Regions from separate parts of the Homo sapiens genome. Here region 2 is linked to region 1. Evidence: promoter capture Hi-C in 16 types of primary human blood cells and fetal thymus (Javierre and others, 2016). All regions are on one chromosome and are shown on one strand. Each heading gives the region's core, a stretch centred on a gene start or on the middle of the fragment in contact. The rest is flanking DNA. Distances are from core to core; before and after follow the strand shown.

What was found. Contacts are between HindIII fragments. The CHiCAGO score rates a contact against its expected background, and 5 or more counts as called.
Region 2: a contact is called between the fragment with the promoter of EGLN1 here and a fragment that was not itself captured in region 1, in 2 of 17 cell types (naive CD8 T cells and total B cells). The highest score is 5.6, in naive CD8 T cells.

Annotation. Positions count from the first base shown.
Region 1 is chr1:230,644,203-230,651,577 of GRCh38, forward strand. All of the region lies in intron 1 of COG2 (component of oligomeric golgi complex 2), which reads left to right. Among named protein-coding and RNA genes, the nearest start is that of COG2, 5.4 kb to the left of the region's middle. The HindIII fragment of the contact is 5,232 bases long and covers 1-4,191 here.
Region 2 is chr1:231,417,085-231,424,647 of GRCh38, forward strand. EGLN1 (egl-9 family hypoxia inducible factor 1) reads right to left here and starts at 5,203. Exons shown (of 5, transcript NM_022051.3): 1 at 3,914-5,203. The coding sequence starts at 4,804. RefSeq lists an enhancer at 3,759-4,028 and silencers at 4,409-5,588, 5,344-5,668. The HindIII fragment of the contact is 5,790 bases long and covers 2,359-7,563 here.

The DNA.
Region 1 (7,375 bases), core at 326-2,825:
CATATTTCGTGGCTCTGTGAATATGCGGTACATTTTGTAGTGCTTATAAAAGTGACAACATACATAGAAGAAAATACATAGAACAGCTGTTCTGTGTAAAATTTTGTTGATTTTTTAGGTGGAGCTTGAAGATAAAGGTTATTTGCAATTTGTGTTGCCTTAAACATATAAAACTACATATAAGTTGCACTTCCATGGCAGAAAGGATGGTTGGAACACTTGTCCAGGCTATATTTCTATGTTTGTGTCTCATTCAGCACATTTTGTAATTGGATAGGTTTTGTACGTGTGAGAAAGTTGGGATATGACATTTGCATTGGGAGATTTGAGATTGCTTGAAAATCCAGATTTAAAGTTGCTTGAAATCCACTCTCTTCTGTTATTACCTCTCTTCTGGTATTACGTCTCTTCTGGTGTTGATGGGAAACTGTGTTTAGGTTGCCATAGATCATGAGGGCATGCTAGTGCAGTGGTAGCAATTGTTCAGTCAGTGGGCATTCCATGATCACCTGCTGTGTGCAGGTTTCAATGGGCCTTGTATACTGTACTGACGGATTTGCACTTGATTTAGTATTCATTGTGGAGTTACAGTCAGGTTAAAAGCAGGAAATGACATGATCATGTATGTTGCAGTTGGAACTGACTGGTGGCGGGAGGCTACTTAAAAAGTTATTTCAGTGGTTTTTATGAGATCTGAGAAATACAGGAGGGGATAGTTTGTGGAAAATATTACGTAAATGATCAAAAAGCAGGAGTGGCAGATGAACGAATCACTTGAGGGGTCAAAGGTGGTAATGGCATGATACTGTTGACTTCGTCAGCTTAATAAAATATACACACTGAGCAACATAGTGAGAATGCATTTCTACAAAATATTGAAAAATTAGCCAGGTGTGGTGGCACATACCTGTAGTCCCAGCTACTTGGGAGGCTGAGGTGGGAGGATTACCTGAGCCTGTGGAGGTCAAGGCTGCAGTGAGCCAGGATTGCAGCACTGCACTTCAGCCTGGGCAACAGAAAGAGACCCTGTCAAAAAAAAAAAAAAAAAAAAAAAGAAAATGTACAAACACTCTTAGAGAGGGTTGACAATCAGTAGATGAATTAGGATGTAAGATACTGGTAGTAGGAGAGAGGTGGTAGGCTAACAGGGATAACTTAAACCCACTTAACCTAGGTATGCTGTGGCAATCATATCCTTCTGTCTCACGTATGACTTCATGTGTTTTACAGAAAAAATAGAGGCCATCAAGCGGTAGCTCCTTCATCTTGCTGACAGCAACCTCGTTCTTGCATTTGTACCTGTTCTCACTCCCATCATTAACCTGTTGTGTAGGGCAATGGTCCCCAACCTTTTTGACACTTTTGGAAGACAATTTTTCCATGGACCAGGAGTGCAGGGGATGGTTTTGGGGTGATTCAAGCGCATTACATTTATTGTACACTTTATTTCTATAATTATTACATTGTAATACATAATGAAATAGTTATAAAATTCACCGTAATGTAGAATCAGTGGGAGCTCTGACCTTGTTTTCTTGCAACTAGACAGTCCTGTCTGGGGGGTGATGGGAGACACTGACAGATCATTCAGCATTAGGTTTTCATAAGGAGTGCCTAACCTAGATCCCTCGCATGTGCAGTTCACAGTAGGGTCCATGCTCCTATGAGAATCTAGTGCTGCCACTGATCTGACAGGAGGCGGAGCTCCAATACAGAGTGGCTGTGAATACAGGCTGCGCTCCTCCTGCTGGGCCACCCGGTTCCCCACAGGTAGTTGGGGACGCTGGTGTAGGGGTCTTTCCTTCCTCCTGAGGTCTGCCTCCCATGCCTGGATCCGGTGCCCTCTCCCTTCTCAGGACCCTGTTATTCCCACCCTCTCCACACTTCTTCCCATTGGCTTTCAGACACACTCCTATTTTAGTTTCTTCTACTGGACCCTCCAACCTCCAGTTAAAGCCCATCGCTCTCTTCCATCTCACAGCCAAATGCTCACAGCCAAATGTTGTCTTTACTTTCTCTCCCTTCACTCTTAAATTCACTTCACTCTGGTTTCTGGCCCCATCATTCCACTAAAGACTTCTCACCAAAGTTAACTAGATGGAAGTCGATCCACCAGACCTTCTCTGCTTCCTTCCCTGACCTCAGTAGATCAAATGCTCCCTTCATTTGCTTTCTGAAACCTGGTGCTTTCTGGTTATCTTTTGGCCTCTCTGGTCTCCTTGTCTCTTTTGCATAATCATTCTCCTCCTAGCCATTAATTGGTGGGTTATGGACTCAGCCACGTGTCTGTTCCTTTTCACATGCTGTGCACTTTCCGCAGGTGACCCACTTCATGCAGCTTCAATGACCACGTGTAGACAGGTGAAAGGTTCATACTTCTGGCCCAAATACCTTCTTATCTGCAACCCCATGTGCACAGCGCCTTGACATCTCTTCTTGGCTATCTCTGTGGCACCTCAAACTCGGCATATTTAAAACTGAATTTGTTGGGGGAAGATGAAAAAAACCAACCTTCTCTCAAACTTGGCTCTCTTCTGGTATTACCTATCTCAGGTAATACTAGACCTGAGGTAATCCATCCATCTGGTTGTGAGTCAGATGTTATCAAGGAGTCATCCTTGATAACACCTCTCTCCTTCACATTCTTGAAATCCAACCTGTTACTAAGCCTTAGGATTTCACTTCCCAAATATCTCTGAAATTTGTCTACTTCTCTCCATCTCCTCTTTTCCCACTTTCTGACTCATCATTATCTCTGGCCATTATAATCTAGTGGCTTCTTACTGTAGTCCCCTGGCATCCATTCTTGCCTTTTTCTAGTCCGTGTTCTACATCACAGGCAGGGTGCCCTTTTCAAAACGCATCTCGGTGCTTGTATGTAACAGGTGCTTGTATGTAATCAGACTGCCACCTGTATACACCATGAAAACATGAGAAAGCATTTTCCAGAACACTTGGAAGTATTCCAGAGCAGCTTATTGCACTGATGGACAGTTTCTATTGATTAGTAGCTATCTTGGTTATCTGATTGAAAAAACATAGCGTATATAGAGTTGGGTACTATCTGTGGTTTCAGGCATTGACTGGGGGTCTTGGAATATATCTCCCTCAGATAAGGGGACCCCTTACTGTAGTTCTGAGGCTCATCTGTATTCTAAGTGTGTAAATAGGGAATATTGAAACAGGAGGTGTGTCCAAGAGAATAATGCCTGGCTGATTGAATAGCAGTGACCTGGAGATGTGGGCCCCAGTTTCAGCTCTGCTGAGCACTCGTGTGATTTTGTGCAAATCGCTGGCCTCTGCGGGCTTCAGTTTCCTCATTTATGTCATGGGGTGATGCTTATCTCAATACTCTTTGCAGTGTTTCTGGCTCTTGTCGTTTTATGTTTCTGTGAATAAAGAAACTTACAGTTGCCCCTCAGTATCCGCAGAGGATTGATTCCAGGACACCTCCCACCCCTTCACAGATAGCAAAATCTGCAAATGCTCAAGACCCTCTTGTAAATGGTGTAGTATTTGCATATAACCTACTTACATCCTCTGGAATACTTTAAATCACCTCTAGATTACTTATACTACCTAATACAGTGAAATTGTTGTTATACTGTATTTTTATTTGCATTACTTTTTATTTTTTTAATTATTTTTTTAAAGACTCTTTTCAATTAATGACTGATTGAATTAGAGGGTGTGGAATGCTCGGATACAGAGGGACAACTGTAGTAGATTCTTCCAGTTTGCAGATAAAGAAACTGAGGTCCAGAGATGTTGTGACTTCCCCCAGAGTCACACAGCTAACTGGGGCAACCCAGGGCCATTATCTCATGACTCCCAGGCTTCAGTACTGGAAAAATAATCGTGTCATGCTTTCCTTTCTAGATGGTAGAAACTTTGGAATGTGTGATTTTGAATACTGAGAACAGCCCAAAAATGTCACATAGTCCCTATGCTAAAGCACATGCATTTTATCAGTAGGGACAAGATTGAGGGCCATCACTTAATTTAAAACAAATTGTAACCCATCTAGTGATCTGGACTCTTGGCCTGTAGATGAGATACAGGAAAGCGGATGTAAGTGTGAAGGCAACAGCCCAGTGTTGCTGAGTGCCGGGCACAGCATGTGCCATCATTTCACAGCAACTAAAATGCTGACCTTACAGGTTCATGGTTTCATTTTTGGTCTTCATGAAAAGCTTGAATTCTCTTTAGCTTCAGTTTGCAACACAAATAAAGAATATATTTGAGACTGATTGTCACAGAATTTTCTAATTACCCACATGTGGAGCGATTTCCTAATGTGAAATACTTTTCTTGATGGTATGAGATCAGTACCATTGGACATACACAGTTTATTCAGTTGGCCTTTGGTAAAAAGAAGTTCTTTGGTATGCAAAAATTTTCCAAGTCACTTCTTGCAATATTATAAAATGTATTACTTGAATAAAATGTTGAACTCATGGTCCCTTGAGTTTTTATTACTTGGGATATTTCTTTGTTCAAAGTTAGATAAGCATCATGTAAATAGATCTTTGTTGTTCAGTCATACAGCATTTAACATCAAATTTCTTTGAGGATTTAACTAACCAAATTAATCACAAAATGGGGCTTGGGCTTTCTCAGGTGTCCCTAATACACCCACAGCAGTAAGCACTTCAGAATGAGATCATTCTGCTTAAGAGCTCAAGAAATTAAGTTGAGAAAGTAAGCTAGAAGACCACATAGATTGTCATTAGTGTTAAACTGGGGTAAAAAGGAGAGAGAAAGAGAAGAAATCAGCTGGGACAGAGCACAAATATTTGTTAAATGGAAGTGACAGGTTATAGGTTTTCTTTGCCTTCTCGTAAATACATCAAACACAGATACGGTATTGAACAGAGGATTTAGACATAAAATTGATTAATCCATTTAAACATAATAAGTTATTTAGAACTTAAGTGCTACTGTTTCATAAAACTTCTAATATCATCTGTCCATAGATGCTGGAAAACACTTTAGCATACATTTTTAATTTCTCAGGCTTCAGTAATTTGGTAACCAAATAAAGGTTTAGAATGAGCCTTGGAAGACACGAGTTCCAGACTAACTGGGTCATGTGTCAATGGAGCCACCCTGCACTGGGGACAGCACTAGGTTTGAGGGCAGGGGCTGGAGGGAAGAGCTCCAGGGACGTTTTTGCCCATAGCTTGCTGTTGTGAGGAAGGGTTCCCTTCCCACAGTCTTTCCCATGGCTGTTGCCTTCATGACATTCAGATCTCAGCTCAGATACCACTTTGTAAGGGTCTTCTATCCCCTTTTCATCACTCGCTTTCATAGGGTTCCATTTTATTTTCTTTGTAGCACTTACCACTATTCATAATGTTTGTTTACATGTTTATTTTCTCATTTCCCCATTAGAATATATGCTCCTTGAGAACAGGAATGTTGTCTTTGCTTTTCATTGCTGTGCCCCCTGTAATTACAGCAGTGATTATTTATTTATTTATTGGGTATCTCATTGTGGTTTTTCTTTTGTTACTTATTTATTTTATTTTATTTTAGATTCAGGAGGTACATGTACAGGTTTATTATGTGGTTATAGTGTGTAATGGTGAGGTTTGTGCTTCTAGTGTGTTCATCACCCAGACAGTGAATGTTGTACCCAATAGATAATTTTTCAGCCCTCATCTTCCTCCAGCACTTCCCCTTTCAAGTCCCCAGTGTCTATTAATTCCATCTTTATGTCCACATATACCCATCATTTATGTCCCACTTAGAAGGGAGATGATGTGGTATTTGACTTTCTGTTTCGGAGTTAGTTCATTTAGGATAATGACCTCCAGCTCCATCCATGTTGCTGCAAAAGACATGATTTCATCTTTTTAAGGCTGCATAGTATTCTGTGGTATAAATGCACCACATTTTCTTTATCCAATCCTCCGTTGATAGACACGTTGATTCCATGACTTTGCTATTGTGAATAGGGCTTCAATAAACATAGGAGTGCAGGTGTCTTTTTTTATATAATGATTTCCTTTGGGTGGATGTTCCCTATTAGGATTACTAGGTCAAATGGTAGTTCTATTTTTAGTTCTTTGAGAAGTCGCCATACTGTTTTCCATAGAACCTGTACTAATTTACATTCTCACCAACAGTGTATAAGCATTCCTTTTTCTCACATCCAGTGTTGTTTTTTGACTTTTTAATAAAAGCTGTTCTGATTGGTGTTAGATGGTATCTCATTGTAATTTTAATTTGCATTTCTCTGATGATTAGTTATGTTGGACATTTTTTCATATGTTTGTTGGATGCTTGTATGTCTTCTTTTGAGAAATGTCTGTTCATGTCTTTTGCCCACTTTTTAATGGGGTTACTTGTTTTTTTCTTGTTGATTTAAGTTCCTTGTAGACTCCGGATATTAGTCTTTTGTTGCATGTATGATTTCCAAATGTTTTCTCCCATTCTGTAGATTGCCTGTTTACACTGCTATTTCTTTTGCTCTGCAGAGCTTTTTGGTTTAACGAAGTCTCATTTGTCTATTTTTGTTTTTGTTGCATCTGCTTTGAGGTCTTAGTCATAAATCCTTTGCCTAGGCCAATGTCCAGAAGAATTTTTCCTAGGTTTTCTTCTAGGATTTTTATAGTTTCAGGTCTTACACATTTAAGTTTTTAATCCATCTTGACTTAATTTTTATATATGGTGAGAAATAGGGGTCCAGTTTCATTTTTCTGCACGTAGTGAATATTTAATGTTTATCGAATATGCAGGGGCATTTATTCTTATCTGTTGGCCCTTTGTCTTAAAGAATGGTTTGAAACACACAGACATACAGGAGCTTATACTAATCTTTTATGACTTTCCACCTATAGTTTATTTAGTCCACAGTTTAGCACATAATATTTTGTATTGGTGTTTATCTCAATGAGACTGAACATGTTTTGAGTGCAGAGATCATGTCTTCAGCTTGGTGTTGCCTCTTGGTAGTACCTCCCATCATTATGAATACAGAATGATGATGTCTGGGGGATTTGGGTTCTGTCCCTGCTGCAGTAGCCGATGATTTGATAGTTTTCTATATTTGGGGAACATTTTACTTTTTGACGTTCAGCATGGGGCAGCTTGGAGAATTTTGCTCTTCTGTTAAAAGTTCTGTGAAATTTTCTCAGTGTTAAGGATATTGATATTTGGGTCTCAGGCGAGCTTTAAATGATTACTTCCCCAGTTCTCTTGTGTTAGTCATTGTTTGCCATCCTTGGGTGCAACTAGTTATTAAAGCAGCTAAACTCTTAAACTTTATTTGGTTTTAAAATTGATTGTCACTGCTATTCTAGTTAATGGTTCTTAAGTTTTCCACAGCTGGTTTGTTTTGCTGTCTTATTATCCTGTATTTGATTTGTTA
Region 2 (7,563 bases), core at 3,953-6,452, 780 kb after region 1:
GAGGGCTCTCTTCCTGGGTCAGTTTCGTTTTTAACATCTAAGAGGATTGTTCACCACATCTCTGTTAGTGATAATAAAACAGCTGCATTTTCCTCATCCTATTCTTTGCTCTAAAAGCCATAATCAGCCAGACCTAACTAATTAACTACAGTAATAGTGAAAAATCTTAGTAATATAATCTGCTGCTTATTAGTCCCAACCTATTTTATTACTCCTTTTCTTTATGTATGTTTTAACGGAACAGATGAAGTTTTGGATTAAATTCCAAAAATGTTATGTATATGATTCTAGTATTTCTATTTTAATGGGAAAATGTTTTCCTTCATAGTGGCGAAGAAACTCCAACAGAAAAGTTCAACATTTTCCCATGATCCTCACTCCTCTGCATTCCTCTTCCTCCTGTACCCCCAAGTCAAGGCACACTACTCTTCACAAAACAGCAGACCATGGTTTCTTTCTACTGCATATCATTGAGACTCTTCTTGATGAAAACAAGCATAAGCAAGGACATAGGATCAAAGGGCAGGGTAACGGCAAAAAGGAGAAAATCCCAAAAAGACCAGAGAAAGTGGAAACAGGAGCTTGGTTGTATCAGTGGCTACAATTACATTTCTGTTTTTCTCCTGTATGACTTCATTTTTCCCTTATGGTTCCTTTTTTAAAGTAGTTGCATAAACAGCGGCCAGATAAGCATGTTTGAAGTAGAAATTCAGGGGAAAACAAAGCCTACACTGAATGGGCCACAGACTATCATGTATCATCTGATTACCATGCCCTGACATAAAGAGCATGCAATATACATGATGTAAATAAAAAAGAACATCAGATTCTTAGTCAGAAAACCTGAATTTAAGTCCTAATATGCTGCAGAATTTCCAACAAGTGAACTAACTTTTCCTGAGTCCCACTTTTCTAATCTATAAAAAAAGGGATACAACCACCTGCCTACTGCTGTGAAAGTTGAAATGAGAAAAATACTACACATTTGCTGCATATAACTTTTAAAATCACTATAATGTTATGAAGGATAAAATTCTGAATTGAAGTCTCCCTCTGCAATCACATAAAAAAACCATATTCTGACATCTGTTAACAGTATACTGACAGGCGCATAATTCAGGTGGATAAATACAAAAGTGGCTTTTAAGCCACTATCTGAAATAAACATTGTACAGTCACCTAATAAAAAGTTTTACACAGCCCAACCATAGAGTATGATTACTCACATATAAAGCTAGTGCTATTCACCCACTTTCAACAAAATATATGTATCAAATTGCAGTTCCAGCAGTGTGCTAAATAATCTACATCTCATTTAATGTTCTACCTATAACTAGCGTAGTTAAAAAAGAGCATGGGTTTGATATCTGAATGACTTAAGTTTGAACACCAGCCAGGGTTATAGTAAGTGGTAGACCTCTGCCAAGTCTGAGCTGAAAATCCCTCAAATGTAAATTAGGAATAACACTACTCACTTCACAGAATTAAGATTATTGTGGCCAGGTGAGGTGGTTCAAGTCTGTAACCACAGTACTTTGGGAGGACAAGGCAGGAGGATCCCCTGAGCCGAGGAGTTCGAGATCAAATGATCAGCAAGACCCTGACTCTACAAAAAAAATTTTTTTTCATTTGGCCAAGTATGGTGGTGTGTGCCTACAGTCCCAGCTACTCGGAAGCTGAGATGGCAGGATAGCTTGAGTCCAGGAGGTGGAAGCTGCAGTGGGCCATGCTTACACCCTTGTACTCCAGCCAGGGCAACAAAGCAAGACCCTGTCTCCAAAAAAAAAAAAAAAAATACTCTGATTGTATCTGTATTGATCCTAATATGATGCCTAACACACTGTGGTTGGTTGCTCAATATACGGTGGGTGGTTATTTTGATTGCCTTCTCATTTCCACAAAGCAAACACCCTTGTTTTTTAGGAATAAATTACATGTTCAAACACGATTACCAAAACCTCTTTCAGCCAAGAAGTACAATGAAAGGAATTCCTGAATATCATTTATAGATCCTGAAGTTGCGTCCCTAAAATTAATATAAGCAGATCAAATCCAAAGAGTTTAAAGGTCATCCCTCCTTCATCCTGTCCCTTATTACCTGCTAATATGTACAGTTACGTGACTTAAAACCCCAACAACTAGAACTCTTGAGGAAGGAGGTACCTATTTCCTAATAGCATCTCTATGAGAAGCATTTGCTCTAAGAGCCAGGCTGTCTGCTGTCCCTTCTCTAAGGACAGGTGAAAGCAGGAAGACAAAAGAGAAAAGAGGTCTCAGCTTAACTTGGAAAGCTAAATTAACTAAGGAAAGCAGATCAAGAAAGATTTGGGACATCATCTTCTTCAAGAATCCAATTTAAGCTTATGTCCCAACTATATACTTTGGTCAGTCTTCACAGCCCTATTGTCTCAAACTAATTTCTTTCCTGCTCTGGAGCTCAGGACTTTATGTTCAGATGTGACAATTTCTTAAAGTTGTGCCCTGACAACTTTCTTAAAAATTTTATCAATGAAAATCTAGTGAAAGACCAACGCTGAAATTTCATCAGATCCCCCTTTTCCTTCCAGTTTAATATTATTCAACTGTTCCTTTTTAAGACTACAAGAAATTAAGACTTGTGCCTTCATCCAGCAATGAAGTGGCAATAGGTAAATTAGACTCCACATTGTATTTTTCCCCACAAAATGTTCACGTTTATAACTTTCTCACTGCCTATGTTCAGTCTTTCGGGCAGCCTGAGAATCACATGTAATGACTGTCAAAGTAGATGATCTGACACACACATACAGAAAAACCACTAGTTAGAGTCAGCGTGTGTGTACAAACATGCAACTGTGATGCTCTCCCAGGTCAATCTCTCAAAACCCACAAAATCAGAGACTGATGGTGGAGGAGGGTGGCCTGGGAGCAGCCACAAAGAAAAGATCAAGATCTGAGAAGTAAAATGAAAAAGAGCTGCAAGAGAGTTGGTTAAGGACGAAAGAGTCTACTGTTTATCATGAGGGAGGAAAGAGGGAATAGACTAGGTAAGAAGTGAAGAAATCTGTGGAGGAAAAACCGCAATAGTAAAGAGAAAACAAAAAGATCTCACCAAATTGGGAGGATAAAACGAGCCCTCCTGCGCCAATTCCGTGTTGTTGTTTTGTTTTGTTTTGTTTTCCAGGAAGTTACAAAACAGTTTTCAACAGAAGGATTACATTAACAAAGCAAATAAAGGAAACTGGTGCTAAAAATGTAGCCTACCTACACTGAGAGGCCTGAAGACGGAAATACTTCTTTCCCCTTTTTGTAACGGGTTTCAAAACAGTAGGAACAGGGTGAGGGATAAGAGCTATAACAGGGGGAGGGGAGTAGCCAAGCTCTTCCTGAATACAGAGTCTTTCGACTAAATGCTTATTTTAAATGTACCTTTTTGCGGTCAGCCGGCAAATTCCTAACTGAACACAGCGTTTGACTCTCAATCGAAATGTGATGAGTGGTTCAGACACCATAGGAAATTTAACAGCTTATGCAAACACAAGGCAGATGCAGAACCAGGACTTGCTTTGGGTGGTACTCTAACACCCCTTCACTGGGTGGCTAAAACGCCACTAAGGTTTGAATTGTGACCAATAGTGGAATGGAAAAAAGAAAATAGGAAAGTTAAAGCGCCTACGTTGAGTCAAAAAACCATGCAATTAGCCGGAGAAGTTTGTGAACGGGCAGTAAGTGGAAAACAGTGGATACAAAGGGGCTAACTAGATAAACAGCTACTACAAATTCTGTCCGTCTTCCTTACGGGGAGCTACACAAGAAAGAGCGAGTCCCTTCTATATAGAGGAATGCTGCTTCTCAGCCTAGGCAGTTTCAGTCGCAGGCAGGGGCTGCCCGCCGAGAAGGGCCTGTCCAGCACAAACCCGCAGCACACACTTACTTTCGTCCGGCCATTGATTTTGTAGCTGCCCAGCTTCCCGTTACAGTGGCGTATCAGGTCGTCCATGCTGCTCATGAGCAGCCCAATGGTTTCGCAGCCGGGCTCCTTGCCCTCGATCCAGGTGATCTTATCGCCTCGGATGTCCTTGGACGAGTCACTCTTCTGGCTGACCAGCTGCCCGTCCGTGAACTTCCCGGTGTCGTGCAGGGCGCGCACCTCGTCGCCGATCTGCTGTCCGGTCTCCTTGCCGAGGAAGTCGTCCACCACACAGATGCCGTGCTTGTTCATGCACGGCACGATGTACTCGAGCGCCAGCTTCAGCGCCGGCAGGGGCTTCGTCTGCCCGTTGGGCCGCAGGCCGCCGCCGGGGCTCAGCGCATCCCCGGGCGTGTTGCTTGGGGGGTACAGGTTCGCCTTCTCCTGGAACAGCGATGAGCGGGCCGGCGGCTCCTCCTTGCCGGGCTCGGCTTCGGCAGCCACCGCCGAGCCCTGGCCGCCGGCGGCCGCACGACACGGCGACGCGGCCGCCGCTGGGTCGGCCGGGGGCTTGGCCTTTACTTTTCCCTTGGCCGCGTCCCCGGAGGCGTTGTCCCGGCGCGCCGCTGCCTTCCTGGGCTCCCGGGCCCCGGCCCTGGGCGGCGGCACTGCAGCCGGCGGCGCGGGGCCGGAATGCTGGTGTGGGCCCACTCCGTGGCCGAGGGCGCCCTCGCTGCCCTGGCACACGAGCTTGTGCTTCTTCCAGTCCTGACGCTGGTGCTCCTTGCAGCAGTAGAAGGAGCTGCGGCAGCGGCTGCAGCGCAGCAGGTTCTCCATCTTCCCGCACAGCTCGCAGTACTGCCGGTCTCGCTCGCTCGGGCTCGGCCCGCCGGGCCCGCCGCTGTCATTGGCCATGGCGGCGGCGGCGGCGGCGACGGCGACTGCGGCGGCCGAGCAGGAGGGGTAGCGGCCGGACGGCCTCGCCCGAGGCTGGGGAGCGGGGAGAGAGATAGGGGCCGTTACTGCGCCATGCACCCGCTACCCTCGCCTCAGGGAGGCCGGCACCCCACGCCCTCGGCCCGGCCGCTTCCGAGTCCTAAGCTCCGGCGCAGCGCCGGCAGCCGCCTCAGCGCCTCATCGCCGCCGAGGGCTGAGAGAATAGGGCCTGTGCGGCGAATGGCAACCTGGGCTCAGGCGCGCGGGCCTGGGGAGCGCAAGACCGGCCCCCTCGGCCGCCGCCGCCGCCTCAGCGTCCCGGGCGGCCCGGCCCAGGCTGTGGAGGAGCGCAGGGCATACGGGCGCCACTCGCTCTGCGCGCTCTGCACGTACACCACGGCCCCGCGGCGACCCGGGCGGGCGGCGCGCGAGGGCGGAGGGGGCGGAGGGAGGGCCGGGAGGGCCGGGGGGAGGGCCGAGGGGCGGGGGCTGCCTGCGCTCCTCCGCACTCGGCGGGGCCGGGCCTCGGCTTCTGCCTCGGAGGTGGGTCGCCCGCTTTCCCTCCGCCCGGGACCGGACTGGGACGCCGAGAGGCCGGTGCGCTACCTCAGCCCGCAGCGGCCTCCTCGGGGACGCCGAGGCGCAGGCCCGCGAGCGGCGGAAAGGCGTGGGGCAGCGCGGCAGCGCCTACACCTGCTGGAGGAGGGCGCCAGCCGCAAGCGGGTAGCGGAGCGAAGGCGGCGTAATCATGGCTGCTCTTCCTCCAGGCCGGCGCGGGGTGTGCGAGGCTCGCTCCAGTCAAGGTTGCAAGGTGGCTATTGCGATCCTCATTTTGCAGAGGAGGAAACGGAAATTCAGAGAAGTAAAGTAACTTGCCCAAGGTCACGCAAAACTGGGACTGAATCCAGGAATCAGGCTCCCAGATTCCAAGGCTGTTTTTTCCATTACACCATACAGCCTCTATTTCAAGAAGCCCTGAAATGGTTAAGAACAAAATAAGTATTACTATGGTGTTAATCCAATCTCTTGCGCCCCGTTTCGACCTAGTTTAAAGGTAATGAAATTTGAGGGTTTTAAAAAAAATCAAAAACTCATTTTTAAAACCTTTGAAATCCCGCCGAGTTCAAAACCCCATGAAGAAATTTTGGGCTACCAAGTTAAATGTAATCAATGCTCATTCCAATATCCAATTTAAACTGATGGGATTATTCCTGAAAAGTGAATTTTGATGGTAAATGAGCAGTACTACATTAACGACTCTCACATTTATTTTTAATAGAATCTGTGCTGCGCGGATGAATACAATTCTTTGTTTTACAGAGCATAAAAACCTTACCAGAAATAAGCCAAAGATGTTTCTTTCTGCTGCTATTTGTCTTAAGAATTAAAAGGTCTGTGATTTCGAGTTTATCAATCTTTATCGAACACTATGTGGAAAGTGGGGTGCTAGGCTTGTGTATCACTTGAGTATACTGTAACTTCAGTCCTTGAAATATAGCCTTCCAAACTTAAAAAGTTGTAATATGTATTTCAAAAGCAGGATATAAGGAATTATTGTAAACCATATTGTAGAAGTTTAAAAAGAGGCTTGAATCCAAAAATATAAAACCTCTTCATCAAATATACAGAATTTAAAACTGTTATAAAATCCTGCTGCATGCGTAAATGGCATTCTGGGGATCCAATCAAGTGAAAGAGGATGATAATTCCAATTAGCTTGTCCTTTGGGAAACTGAGATAAATATACTCACATCTTCAAATTTCAAACCGAACTAAAAATCCAAGTTTCTGTAAAGAATTTAGACCTAGACCTGTCTTATGTGTATCCTACTTTCCCAGAGCTTTATTAAATACAGTAAAATGTCATTGTTGCAGACATTACTAATTAGGCTGTTCAACAAATGCATTGAGAGTCCTTGACAAACAAATGAATTAGTCATACTACACTCAGAGACACATAGTCCAATGCAGGAGGCAGGTATGTAAACAAGGACAATCCAGAGTTCAGAGTTTCCTAAAAGAGGGATGAATAGGATGGAATGGGAACACAGAAAAAGGAATTGCTAGCTCTGCCATTTGCACTAATAAAATCCAAGCAAATTAATTCAGAAATTCTTAAAATATAAAGGAGCTATCTCATGGCTTACGAAAATAAGCATTTAAAACATTTTTCATACACATAAATTATGTAAAATGTAATTTAAATACAAGTAGAGTCTAATACTTCTTAGGCTTCCTTTTGCTATAGTAATTATACATGAGGCTTAATTATTCACAAGAGCAGGAACTTTACTAGGAGGACTCATTCCACAAACACTTGATTCTTCCAACAATTTCTTTTAAATTTGCTATTTCAGTCTGTGGTGTGTCCACAAATTATTTACATCTCTATATGCTCTACTCATATATTTTCATTGAAGTTTACTTAAAAGAATAGATGTCCATATCAAAACCTTTATTAGCTTTCTTGTTCCAATTAAGTATACAAAATCACAAATTGAACATGTATATCCTAAATATACTTAATCCATCAAATAGAACACTTGCAACACTTTAATGAATACAACAGGAAAATATAAAATACTGATTTCAAATAGTTCCAAAGATCCTTGATTTCAGGATTTTCACCTATTCAGGCTTAATAATCTGAACTAATTCCAAATTAGTGAGTTTTCACCACACCATATGCTGGTGAACAATCTTGTCACCAACACGATTCTGGAACTCCAGTAGCATTG